2 separate regions of the Homo sapiens genome follow, and region 2 is linked to region 1. The links are contacts of gene promoters, found by promoter capture Hi-C in human tissues and cell types (Jung and others, 2019). All regions are on one chromosome and are shown on one strand. The core of a region is centred on a gene start or on the middle of the fragment in contact, and the rest is flanking DNA. Distances in the headings are between cores, read along the strand shown.

Evidence for each region. The method cuts DNA at HindIII sites, captures the fragments that hold promoters and counts their contacts. A contact is called where the count stands out against the background at its distance.
Region 2: a fragment that was not itself captured here is called in contact with the fragment with the promoter of SPAST in region 1 in 1 of the 25 tissues and cell types used here (adrenal gland).

The regions. Positions count from the first base shown.
Region 1 is chr2:32,059,648-32,066,588 of GRCh38, forward strand. SPAST (spastin) reads left to right here and starts at 3,909. Exons shown (of 17, transcript NM_014946.4): 1 at 3,909-4,599. The coding sequence starts at 4,185. RefSeq lists enhancers at 3,703-3,772, 3,821-4,621 and silencers at 3,993-4,132, 4,193-4,612, 4,643-4,772. The HindIII fragment of the contact is 21,143 bases long and covers 1-6,941 here.
Region 2 is chr2:31,850,253-31,857,193 of GRCh38, forward strand. No RefSeq gene overlaps it. Among named protein-coding and RNA genes, the nearest start is that of LINC01946, 50 kb to the left of the region's middle. The HindIII fragment of the contact is 3,972 bases long and covers 459-4,430 here.

The sequences.
Region 1 (6,941 bases), core at 2,659-5,158:
GCACTCCAGTCTGGCGACAGAGCGAGACTCCATCTTAAAAAATAAATAAATTTTAAAAAAAACTACCCCAGCATGGTGGTGCATGCCTGTAGTCCCAGTTACTCAGGAGGCTGAGGCAAGAGGGTGGTTTGAGCCAGGGAGGTCAAGGCTGCAGTGAGCTCTGATGGCGCCACTGTACTCCAGCTTGGGTGACAGAGTGAGACCTTGTCTCAAAAACAAAAACAAAAACAAAAAACCAACAAATCTCCTTGTTAGTATCATGGTGAGTAAAAAATAAAATAAAAATAGAAATAAACTGAACATGGTGGCTCATGCCTGTAATCCTAGCACTTTGGAAGGCTGAAGTGGGAGGATTGCTTGAGGGCTGGAGTTCAAAACTGGCTTGGGCAACACGGTGAGAGAGACCTTGTCTCTACAAAAGAACTTTTAAAACAAAAAATAGATAATTTAAAAAAATTAAAAAAAACAAAAAATAAAAAAATAATCAAGTATCAACTTGATTCCAGGCACTGCTTACTACTCTAGTGTTATACTGTAGATGTGGAAGCTGAGTAACTCATCCAAGATCACCGAAAGTGATGGAACACAGATCTAAATGCAACCAGTCTGACTCCAGGACCATTTAACCATTCTACTATTGGGCCCTATCTTGGCTAAGTTAGAAAGTAAGTTACTTTCTTTAGTGGTAAAGACTGGAGGGATAACAGGGAAGATAGTTATTTAAGAAAAAAAACTGGCATCAAACTAAATATCCATCAATAGTTGAACAGTAAAATAGGTTGTGGTAAATTCATATAATGGAATACTATATAGCAGTGAAAATGTACCACAGTTATAGAAATCAACAGGGAGGAATTTCAACACTTAATTATTAAGTAGGTAGCCAGGCATAGCGGTTTATGCCTGTAATCCCAGCACTTTGGGAGACCAAGACAGGAGGATTACTTGAGCCCAGGGGTTCGAGATCAACCTGGGCAACAGTGAGACTCCATCTCTATTTTCTTAAAATAAAATAAATGAAATTTTAAAAATTTTGAGGAGGGAAAGCAAACAAGGGATACTTGAAATATGATTACATTTCCATAAAGTCAAAGTGAGGCAAAATCATACAAGACATTGTTTAGAAATACATAAATACACTGCAAACTAAAAATGAGACACTAGAATGATTAATATAAAATTCAGGATAGTGGCTTCCTCTAGAGGAAGAGACAAGACATTGAGATTAGGGAGGAGCTCACAGAGTGCTTCGAGGAGTTGGTTACATTCATTTTTCTTAAATGGAATGCTGCTTATTATTTTTCTTTAAATTGTGCATTTAAGTAACACACTTCTTGTTTATATGATATATGTATAAATGTAATTTTTTTTTTTGAGATGGAGTTTCGCTCTTGTTGCCCAGGCTGGAGTGCAATGGCACTATCTTGGCTCACTGCAACCTCCACTTCCTGGGTTCAAGTGATTCTCCTGCCTCAGCCTCCCGAGTAGCTGGGATTACAGGCATGCGCCACCATGCCCGGCTAGTTTTGTATTTTTAATAGAGAAAGGGTTTCTCCATGTTGGTCAGGCTGGTCTCGAACTCCCGACCTCAGGTGATCCGCCTGCCTTGGCCTCCCAAAGTGTTGGGATTACAGGTGTGAGCCACCGTGCCAGGCCCTGAATCAGATTTAAAAGAGGGCATTTCATTAAAAAAAATTTTTTGTTGTTTGCTTTTGAGACAGAGTCTCGCTCTGTCGCCCAGGCTGCAGTGCATTGGCATGATCTTGGCTCACCGCGGCCTCAGCCTCCCAGGTTCAAGTGATTCTCCTGCCTCAGCCTCGCACTAGTTGAGATTACAGGAATGCACCACCACCACAGGAATGCACCTGTCTAACTTTTGTATTTTTAGTATAGAGGGAGTTTTGCCATGTTAGCCAGGCTGCTCTTGAACTCCTGACCTCCGGTGATCTGCTCGCCTCGGCTCCCAAAGTTCTGGGATTACAGGCGTGAGCCACCACACCCGGCCGAAAGAGGGCATTTCAGAATGAGGGTCTAGCATAAGCACAGAGAAGGGGGAGCAATAAGAGGGAAACAGGGAGTAGGTCATTTTTGCAATAGCCTGTGACATTTGTAGGGCAGTACTGGCGGGGAATAATTAAGTAAAATTGGCTGGTGCTGTGGCTCATGCCTGTAATCCCAGCACTTTGGGAGGCCGAGGCGGGCAGGTTGCTTGAGCCCAGGAATTCAAGACCAACCTGGGAAACATAGCAAGACCCTGTCTCAACAAAAAAGTAAAAAAATTAGCTGGGGGCGCGATGGGGTGGCTCATGCCTGTAATCCCAACACTTTGGAAGGCTGAGGCAGGCGGATTGCTTGAGCCCAGGAGTTGGAGACCAGCCTGGGCAACATGGTGAAACCCTGGCTCTATAAAGAATACAAAAATTAGTCGGGCCCAGTGGCGTGTGCCTGTGATCCCAGCTACTCGGGAGGCTGAGGTGGAAGGATCACCTGAGCCAGGGAGGTGGAGGTTGCAGTGAGTCATGTTGTTTGCGCCACTGCACTCCAGCCTGGGCAATGGAGTGAAACCCTGTCCAAAAAATAAAAAAATAAAGCTGTGGCAGAATGTGGAGATTCTTGGAAGCTGGAAGCTCTCATGGGGCATTTGGAAACCTCACATTGTAAATAACGGAGTCTTTTTATCAGTTTGGCTTCCTTAGTTTTAGGAAACAAGAAATAATTATGGCTAACTCAAGTAAAAAGAGAAAGAGAAGAGAAAAAAGACGTGGAGATAGAGAGAGAGGGAGAGAGAGGAAAAGACGAAAGGAAGGAAGGGGGAAAGGAGAGAGGAAGAGAGAAACAGAGAAACAGACTGATTAGTGTATTGGATAGATTACATAACCAAGTGACCAGTCAGGAACCCAGCAGCTCTGGGGGAGCTCAATGTGATGCATTGATAAACCCGCTCTTAAGAGCACTCGTTTCCAGTTACTTTCTATTCGGTGGGTCTCCAGCCAAGATTCCAGGTCCCAGGAGAATCTGACTGACCTAGTGTTTGCTTCCGCCTTTGCGGTCTGGGTTCTGTGCTTGCAGCTCATTAGAATACAGGGAGCAGAGACAAGCAGGTAGTTTCCCAAAGGAAGGGATGCTGAGTAGATTAAAAAAAAAGTGTAGATTCTTCAGTAAACTATGGGATGGTAACTATGCAAAACCTAAGATTTCCCTTATTCAAATAAATTATCTTTCATATTAGACATCTAAATATGCACTAATTTAGTTAAACCCCTGGGTTAGTTGATCTCATCACACTGAGCTAACATTTTTGTTGCTGTTGTTTGCAGTGACCTGAAGTTTCTTATCTTCACAATTGCTTTCCTCTCAAATAATTCCCAGATTTTAAATTTTTATTTTATTTTTTCTGGAGACGGAGTCTCGCTCTGTCGCCCAGGCTGGAGTGCAGTGGCGCGATCTCAGCTCACTTGCAGCCTCTGCCTCCCGAGTTCAAGCGATTCTCCGGCCTTAGCCTTCCAACCAGCTGGGACTACAGGCGCGCGCCCCCACGCCCGGCTAATTTAATTCCCAGATTGATATCCATTGCTTCTGAGATGGGCCAATTATCCTTCGGAGAAGACTTAGGTCGCCTGGCAGAAAAAGATGAAAGAAATCTAAGAAAACGACGACACTGAGAGAGGAGCCTAGCGAACCAGCAGAGCGACCCCAAGCCGCAATTCCCCCTTCCGTGGATCGATTACGAAGGCTTCCTGGCAGGAGCTCTCCAGGGCTGCCGACGTGAGCCGAACTGCACATTGGGAACTGTAGTTGAGTGGGAAAGCCGAGAGGCGGGGGCCGCACACGCGTACAGGGGCCCCGGTCAACAAAGACGCGCCGTGCGCGCGCGCGCCGGAGAAAAACACGGGAAGACGTGCGCGTGCGCGGCCGCCGCTGGGAGCCACCAGGCGGCGGAGAGGACAGCGACAGGAAGGGAGGGGCCCGAGCCACCGACTGCAGGAGGAGAAGGGGTTGTGCTCCTGGCCGAGGAAGGAGAAAGGGGCGGGGCCGGCGGGCAGCGTGCGGCAGTGCGGAGCTCCTGAGACCGGCGGGCACACGGGGGTCTGTGGCCCCCGCCGTAGCAGTGGCTGCCGCCGTCGCTTGGTTCCCGTCGGTCTGCGGGAGGCGGGTTATGGCGGCGGCGGCAGTGAGAGCTGTGAATGAATTCTCCGGGTGGACGAGGGAAGAAGAAAGGCTCCGGCGGCGCCAGCAACCCGGTGCCTCCCAGGCCTCCGCCCCCTTGCCTGGCCCCCGCCCCTCCCGCCGCCGGGCCGGCCCCTCCGCCCGAGTCGCCGCATAAGCGGAACCTGTACTATTTCTCCTACCCGCTGTTTGTAGGCTTCGCGCTGCTGCGTTTGGTCGCCTTCCACCTGGGGCTCCTCTTCGTGTGGCTCTGCCAGCGCTTCTCCCGCGCCCTCATGGCAGCCAAGAGGAGCTCCGGGGCCGCGCCAGCACCTGCCTCGGCCTCGGCCCCGGCGCCGGTGCCGGGCGGCGAGGCCGAGCGCGTCCGAGTCTTCCACAAACAGGCCTTCGAGTACATCTCCATTGCCCTGCGCATCGATGAGGATGAGAAAGGTAACTAGGGGGCTGGGGGAGGGGGCGGCGGCGCCGGGAAGAAGGCGGTGGGGTCGCCGGGGGAGGGCAACACCTGCGTCCCTTTTCTGCGGGAGGGGACGGTGCACCCCCGGAATTGATATGCCCCGGGAGACTGCTTTCCCGTAGGTCGGAGCCTCATCTTCTAGTATTCTTAAAACCTCTCCCCTTTCAGGGCACTGTAGCTGTCGACTTTGTTTCAGACACCAGCCTTCCCCCACACTTCTGCATGACCCAGGTCACTATGAGACACCCAGACGTGTTGATGACAGTGACATTTGTCCTAGAGTGACCACACTGATCCTTTCTAGCACTGTGAAGAGTGTGCAGCTTCCTCTGAACCAAGGTTTCCAAAAGGTTTTGATATTGAAGAAGCAGTGCCGCCTTACTGGCTTTTAATGAAAGCAGAGTATTGTAGTGTCAGAAAAAAAGAACAAATGGTGACAATTTTGAAAGAAATAGCTGCATATGACTGCAGTTGAATTTGCATCATTTTAATCAAGATAATCATTTTATCAGTACAACGATTCCTGAATACTTTTTCAATGAAGTTATATTTAGCATAAAACTTTTCCCCCTGTTGCTTTGATTTTAATTAAAACAGTATTCCAAAGTAGCCTTTAATTTCCAAGTTGAAATGTTTGATGAATGGATTGCGTAAACTTAAACATACCACTTTACAGTAAAACCTAAAACAACTATGTATGTTTCTGAATGAAAGCAAGGATACTACATCTTTCGGGTTTCTTTTAAGCTAACTTTTTTTTTTTTTTGAGACGGAATCTCGCCCTGTCGCCCAAGCTGGAGTGCAATGGTGCAGTCTCGGCTCACTGCAACCTCCGACTCCCTGGTTCCAGCGATTCTCCTGCCTCAGCCTCCCGAGTAGCTGGGATTACAGGCACGCACCACCACGCCTGGCTAATTTTTGTATTTTTAGTAGAGTAGGGATTTCACCATGTTGGCCAGGATGGTCTCCATCTCCTGACCTCGTGATCGGGTCGCCTCGGCCTCCCAAAGTGCTGGTAATACAGGCATGAGCCACCGCGCCTGGCCTTAAGCTAACATTTTTTATTATATGTGCCAGGCATTGTGCTATTAGCTTTGCATGTGTTATCTTTTTTCTTTTTAAAAAAAATAGCAACCATCCCAGACCATGAAAAGTGTTATTTAATCCTCACAATAACTTTGTGAGATGAAGGTATTATTGGTATCAGCATTTTAGAGATGAAGAAAATGAGGCCCAAAAGATAAAGGAGGTTATTCCAAACCTGTGCTAATAATGAAATTTCTTTTATGGAAAATAAGTGAAATTAGGAGAAGTCTAACTTTTACAATTCTCCCCTTTTATCCTTACTTCCAGTATGCTGAGATCTTGCTTCTCCCTCTGCCAAAAACACCCACTTTTCTACCACACCTCAATTAGATACTCACTTGCATTGTCCATTAGTGAAAACAGAAACAATCTGCACTTCATTCATAGTGTCTGTCTCTACTGCCAACTCCAAAAACTGTTCTAGAATTTCAATCTTGTTGAAACCTGTTTCCTTTGTGGGGCCTGGGAGTGGGAAGTGGGATATAAGGAAAGAGGCAGTTATTCATTGTTTTGGACAGTAAGGAAAGAGTGACGGTTAAGAGAGGTCAAGGAGGGTGTTAACATTTAAGAATACTATGTGTTTGTAGAAGGAAATTTTTTGTTAACTGCTCCATTCTTTTTTTTTTTTTTTTTTGAGATGGAGTCTCCCTGTGTCACCCAGACTGGAGTGCAGTGGCGTGATCTCAGCTTACTGCAACCTCTGCCTCCCAGACGCAGGCGATTCTCTTGCCTCAGTCTCCCGAGTAGCTGGAACCACAGGTGCGCCCTATCACGGCTGGCTAATTTTTTGTATTTTTAGTAGAGATGGTGTTTCACCATGTTGGCCAGACTGGTCACGAACTCCTGACCTCAGGTGATTCGCCTGCCTCGACCTTCCAAGTGCTTGGATTACAGGTGTCAGCCACTGTGCCCACCCAGCAAGCTCCATTCTTTATCACCTCTTAAGAACATCCAGGATCCCTTGGGGAGAATTAAAACGGTTGCAAAGTTTTAGAATAGAGGAACATGTTTAAGCGTAGATCATTTTTTGGGCCAGTCATGGTGGCTCACGCGTGTAATCCCAACACTTTGGGAGGCCGGGGCGGGTGGATCATGAGGTCAAGAGTTTGAGACCATCCTGGCCAACATGGTGAAATCCCATCTCTACTAAAAATACAAAAATTAGCTGGGCATGGTGACACATGCCTGTAGTCCCAGCTACTCAGGAGGCTGAGGCAAGAGAAGTGCTTGA
Region 2 (6,941 bases), core at 1,195-3,694, 210 kb before region 1:
CCTGCTTCATAGTTGATCTCATGAACTTTGTTCTTTCCTTTTCTTACTATTTTTGGAGTCATTAAGTTCTGTCTTTTTAAAATTATTCCTGGCCGGGCGTGGTGGCTCACGCCTGTAATCCCAGCACTTTGAGAGGCCGAGGGGGGCAGATCACGAGGTCAGCCTGACCAACATGGTGAAACCCCATCTCTACTAAAAATACAAAAAAATTAGCCTGGCGTGGTGGCACACGCCTGTAATCCCAGCTACTTGGGAGGCTGAGGCAGGAGAATCGCTTGAACCTGGGAGGCAGAGGTTGCAGTGAACCGAGATCGTGCCATTGCACTCCAGCCTGGGCAACAAGAGTGAAACTCTGTCTCAAAAAAAAAAAACACAATGATAATAATAATATACAGTAAATCTTCAAATAAGATTATGCTACTTCACTACTTCACATATGGCATTAAGAACATTGCAGGCCAGGCGCAGTGGCTCACGCCTGTAATCCCAACACTTTCGGAGGCTGAGGTAGGCGGATCATGAGATCAAGAGATCAAGACCATCCTGGCCAACATGGTGAAACCCTGTCTCTATTAAAAACACAAAAATTAGCTGGGCATGGTGGCGTGCGCCTGCAGGGTTTCTTTTCCCAGAGAGCAGTAAATTATGGCAAGAAGCCCCATGCCCAGCATGGTGCCAGAGAGATGGACTAAAGGGTCCAGAGACAAAAGCTCACTCAGCTCAGCATAGTTAGGCAGCAAATAAGTTGATTTAGAATTGGCAGTTACTCCAAGTTCCAATTAGGGGTAAGATGGAACACATCAGTGGATACAAAAAGCAATACAAATTCAGCAGATGGAAAGGCAAACATATGAGCAGGTATTTATAGAGAAAATGTCATATCCAAGATCCAGCAGGGGCAAACAAGGACCAGACATACTTCTAACACTTGGCTGTTATGTCAATACTTTTGTATACAGTTATCATGTAGAAAGAAAGAATGAATGGGACAGTCTCTGAGTTGACTGAGAACACTTTCTTGAGTTGACTGAGAAAACTTTGAATTGGCTATTTTTTCTAAAATAAGCTGACATCAGGAAAGAAAACCCAGATAAAAACTGAGTTTAGAAACTGCAATAACAAAACTGTATACATGGTGGAATTCTACTTTAAAAAGATAGAAACACACACATCGTATGCTCAAAAAGTATTAGACCTACTGTACCAGAAAGATTAAAGAATAAAAATTTGCAGTGATAATCTTTGGAGAATGAGACTATAAGTGACTTTTTTTCTATCCATTTAAAATAAAAATGTTATATTTGATTTCTTCCTGGAAGTTTTTTATTTTTATTTTAATGTATTTATGGGTTAGAATATGGCCAAGGTGTGGATAAAAGAAACTTCTAAGCTTACAGTATCAGCTAGCATTTGCCTGGTTGGTGGGGAAAGAAACAGTTTATTCTTAGTCTCAAAACCTTCCTCCCTCCGCCGGCCCCGAGACGGAATCTCACTCTGTCGCCCAAGATGGAGTGGTGTGACCTCGGCTCACTGCAACCTCAGCTTCCCAGGTTCAAGTAATTCTCCTCTTCAGCCTCCAGAGTAGCTGGGGTTACAGGCGCACGGCACCATGCCCAGCTCATTTTTGTATTTGTAGTACAGACAGGCTTTCGCCATGTTGGCCAGGCTGGTCTGGCCTCAAGTGATCCGCCTGCCTCCACCTCCCAAAGTGCTGGAATTACAGGCATGAGCCATGTGCCCAGCTAATGCCTCAAAACTTTTTAAATTTCTTTTTTCTCTTTATTTGACTTTTTGTGTGACTCTAGCCAAAGATAATGTCTCAAAACACTTGCTAAAGTGAATGCCTTGAATTAAATGGCCAAATGTTTACGTTCTCAGGAAGGAAAGGAGTATGGAGGCATTTGCAGGGGTCACCATTTCAAAGTATCCAGTACCAGACCACACTAAACCCGGCTAAAAGCATCAAGAGTAAGTCTTGTTTTATGCTCAGTCCATGTTCAGGGAAAAAACACAGTTATTATTGATTCTACTAAATGTTGAATGCAAGACCAGCAACTATAGGAAGTATAAAAGCATTAAGCTTCTGTGTTGAGGAAATTTATAATCTAATAGAGAAAATAACAGAGTACTAAAACTGCATGGGAAACAGGCTACAGAAATTCAGAGGAATATCAATTAAAGGAGGGTAGAGAAAGCAACAGAAAGGGTTGACAAATGATGTTTCAGGAATAATTTACTGCTCTCTGACACATATGGAAAGGCGAGGCATATGGAAAATGGGAGAGAAAAAGTGGTATCTTCCTAGACAGCAAAATGAGGAAATATTGAGCAGGAAATTTACCAGATTCACAAATTCCAAAAAGTTCAGGGAACAACTGAAATGACTGAAATGAACGTTGGTTTTGGAGCAAGTTAGGCTGGACTCAAATCCCAACTCTGCCTCCCTAATAGGTAAATGCCCTTGAATAAGCTTACTCCCCGCTGAAATGTTTCTCCCAGTTTGTGACTTGTCTTCTCATTCTTGTCATTGTCTCTTGACATTGAGCATTAGTTGTAAAAATGAAGCCTAATGTCTTTCCCTTTTTTTAATGGATCAGCCTAGCTGGCTGCTGAGCAGAAGCTCCCCTCAGTTCCTTGCTGTGTGGACTTTCCCAACATGGTAATTTGCTTCATCAAAGCCAGCAAGGGAGAGAGTCTGCTAGCAAGAAGTGACATACCCACAATGATGATTAGAAGAAATTTACTCAAGGGGAAGGCATTACAAAACGTCATAAACATCAAGAGGCACAGGAGTCATCAGGGGTCATCTTAGAGCATATTCTTTACACATCTTAAACAGACTAAGGTTTATTTCGGGGGGCTGAGGGAACCTAGACCATCCAAGTTTTTGGCTATGAGTGTCTCCACAAGTATAGAAACTATTCTTGGTCAGAAATGTTTTCTAAGCCATGAAAACATCTATCTAAAAATGGGATTATTGTAAGAATTAAATAACATAAAGTATAAGATTGAATCACACTAAGTTGCAGTTTGTATAAGTAAACAACAGTTAAATATCAGCAATTTCATACGGTTCTTAAAGAACATACAGTTTGTCATGTGGCAGGTACTCAATATTTGCTGAACTACACTATCTTATTCCATGAAGAAAATGAACTTCACTTAAAAAGAAAAATCTTACCAGAGGGCACCATGTTTTCTATATAGCTCTTAAAGATCTAAATTTATATACTGGTTCAGCCACTTATCGGTGAAGTGGCATCAAATCAGTTACTTAAACTTTCTAAAGTGTGTAAAGTGAGGATACTTACCTATTCTTTTTATGATTATTTTCAGGACTAAAACACTCTCCCAGAGTAGGTTATCAGATTGTAACTAGTATTAAGATTTGTAAGAAGTATGTGACATAAACCAATTAGAATAAAATCAAGAACATGAAACCAATTCCAAACTAAAACCTGAGGAAAATGCTGAGGTTGACAAAGTAGGTTCTCAAAACATTTAAGCACAGTTGTACCAAATTTTCATAGTGGTCCTAAGGGATTCTAGTAGTTACCCAAAAAAAAAAATTTTTAATTTTGCATTTTCAAAAGCTGTAGTTTTATATCACATCAGTTTTCACTGAACTGTCTAGGACTTTCACATATATAATCTCTAAGTATTTGTATAATTTGTATTGTATGTTACATGGCCTAAGCATCAACCATGAAGTTGACCACTCTGTTTATACATTTGAACTTAAGGTAATGATTCTAAAACTTTTATTCTGGGACATATTCTCTCTCGCTTTCCTCCCACACCCACAACATATACCACACAAAAGGGCTTGTGGTGTTACCTTTAATAATATATTCTACAATCCTACCTTGAGCTAAAAAAAATTTGTAAAGATCACATAATCTCTGAAGAGTTTCCTGGGGAAGAATTTAGCTAAACAATTCCGGATGAACGGTCATCTCCCCTTTTCTTCACCAAAATTTCCCATGACTGTGTGATGTTATGTTCCTAAAGTTGCATAAGTTTTTTCCAAGGTCCAGACTCATTAATGTCTGTTTAAAACTATCTAATCTCCATCATCTATCTTTATCTCTATCTATCTATCTATCTATCTATCTATCTATCTATCTATCTATCTATCTATCTATCTATGTTTTCGTAGAGATGGGGTCTTTGTTTTCCAGACTGGTCTCGAACTCCTGGCCTCAATCAATCCTCCCACCTCAGCCTCCTAAACTGTGGGTATTACAGGTGTAAGCCACCGCACTCAGCCTAAAACTATTGACTAAAACAGAAAACAGCTCTTCACCATCACATAGAGCATGTTCCTTCTCAAATATAAAGATACAGTCAACTCTTTTAGATTCAACGTTTTTTACTTAACTTTTCCTCCAAATCCAATTTCCTCAAATTGATGTTCATGTCTGTCACTTACCTTGAACTTTTTCTCCTCTTTATGTTGGGGTCCAAAATCAAGAACAATACTCTAGAAAGACTTACAATGATGAGTACAATGTGTGAGAATGCGGGAAAACACTGTTAGGATAAGCAATTCCCCTCCCCTCACATACTGTATGTATAATGCCGGATTATTACCCTCAGCAAGTACATGTTAGTAAGCAGAGTTTCTATTTCCAAGAGTTATTTATCATGAGAACTCATTGGTTTTCATGAATGAAAGTACATCATAGATAGAGATGACCAACCAATCATTAGTTTTTCAATAGTTTAGCAAATGCTGTTGGTCAACCATTCTACAGACATAATTCATCCAAAAATAGTATTTAAAAAACAATGACTTTTTTCTTAAAAAGAGGGAAAAGACATTGGTTGAAAATAACAACAAAATGGAAGAAGCTGCAACCTTTCTGTTGACATCTGATTAAATAAACTCAGATTGAAGATTTTTTTTTTAAGGCCTGAATAATTTGCCCTACTATACACAAAGGAACCTCATTCAAGAAGAAACTAAAAAAAAACTTTTTTATTAACAATTTGTTGGTGGCAAAGAAAACAATGTCTTTACATACATGTTTACAAAATATTTCCATAAAATAATTGTTTTCCTTTCCTTTTAAAGATTTGTTTTCACTTGGCAAAAAATTAAAACATTATTTACCACAAGCAATGAAACCCAGCACTTTTATATAAATGGTTTTATCTTCCCTTCACCCTTTTCCTTAAATTCAATACTCTTACAGGCTACCTAAATTGATAATGACATTTAGAAGGATGAACATGTAGTATGATTAATGGTAGAACTGTTGTGTTAGGCAATAATGCTAAAGTTATAAGTGCTACTTGAGAATATGAAGGATTTGGAGGATTTTTTAGGGGGTAGGAACATAAAGCATTCTAGAATATCACTACCAGGGGATAAAATGCCCAACACCATCCCTGCACTCAAACATGGGACTGCTAGGTCAGAGTATTCAATCAATTAAGCTATAGTCTCCATTTTTAAGTCATGGCAAAGGATACTAGAGAATGAAGAGATTACTTGCTATCAGAAGCTACAGACTAAGAGCTAGCTTAAAAAGAGAAAACCCAAGTTCCTTTCAGGTAAGAAACGATTTGTCAAGACTATAAAAGCAGGCCTTTGTTATTGTTTCTAATACACAGAAGGGAAAATGCAAGAGAGAAAAGGAGGATGGAAACAGATTGGTGTCTTCTATCTTCATTAGTATCTTTTATCTTAGAGAAAATATCTTTTTAAATGATACCAGGTAATAAGTATTGCAGAATTTTAACGAGTAATACTACTATTGAAATATCTGTGTCAATTAACTTAAAACCGGGAGAGACAGGCAAGATGTATCTTTGCATTTACTGCTATAGTTCCCAAATACACAGAGATCATTAAAATATACAGTATCTTTTCCCAGGGATAACCAATTTAATTTATGTTCAATAGTTTAGATTTTTTAAACGTATTTTGGCTATTCATATTTTTGTCTTATATATTCCCATTTATGAACCTCATTATTTTCATTTGACAGAACATTACTTTTCATTGAACATGACAAAATTCCCATGATCAAAAATTTCAGTGTCTCTCTTTTTTTAAAACAATCCATCTGTTACTTTCTTGAGAGTGCTCCTCAGCTGATTTGCAAATGAGTACACAACTTGGTAAAGGTCTGTAATTTTATTCTTTAATATTGAGCACTGCAAGCTCTGTTATGAGAGAAGTAAAGTATCCCCATCATTATACTTGTTCATCTTGGGCAGAAATACTAAAGTTTGTTGAAAACAACTCCACTTTCAAATATTAGTTATCCTAACTTTGTAGAGACGGTGGTAGCAATGTTACCACTAAAAACAAGCGTCGGGGGTTGAGGGGGAAGAATTGGGTAGAAGCTGGCAAGAAAAGCTAAAGATTCTAACTGACAAGCTTTCTGTTACCATATATTATTGAAATTACTATAAAATTACTGCTAAAAAATATTTTTCTAAAGCCATTTTGTCACGTGAGTTGGGCACAGAAACCTCAAGCTATTACGTATGAACAAATGTTTCTTCGGTTTAAAAAGGTGAAATTCCAAGGAAAATCAAAAGAACATCTGGTTGTACCATATAAAAGCAGATATCACATATTGTACCAAAGTGCCTTTCTAGTAATAAACTAGTAATGACTTAAATACCACACGTTTACCTACATTTCTATCACCTAAAAGTTAATGTCTCCATTTAAAAAATAAGCATAAATGAATTGTGAAAATAAAGCTGTAAATAATGCAAAAATCTCTAAGTTACACTTAAAATATAAATTAGAATCGGGCAATTTTGAATCTAATAATAGCTCTACTGTAAATACCTGAGTGAAACATGATATCCTGTAGACACTGAGTCCCCAAACCTACATTTCAGCATAAATTCTTTTAGTACTAACAATTGGTTTAACTATCTTTAGTCAATAATGTAAACATTTAGTTAAAAATTGC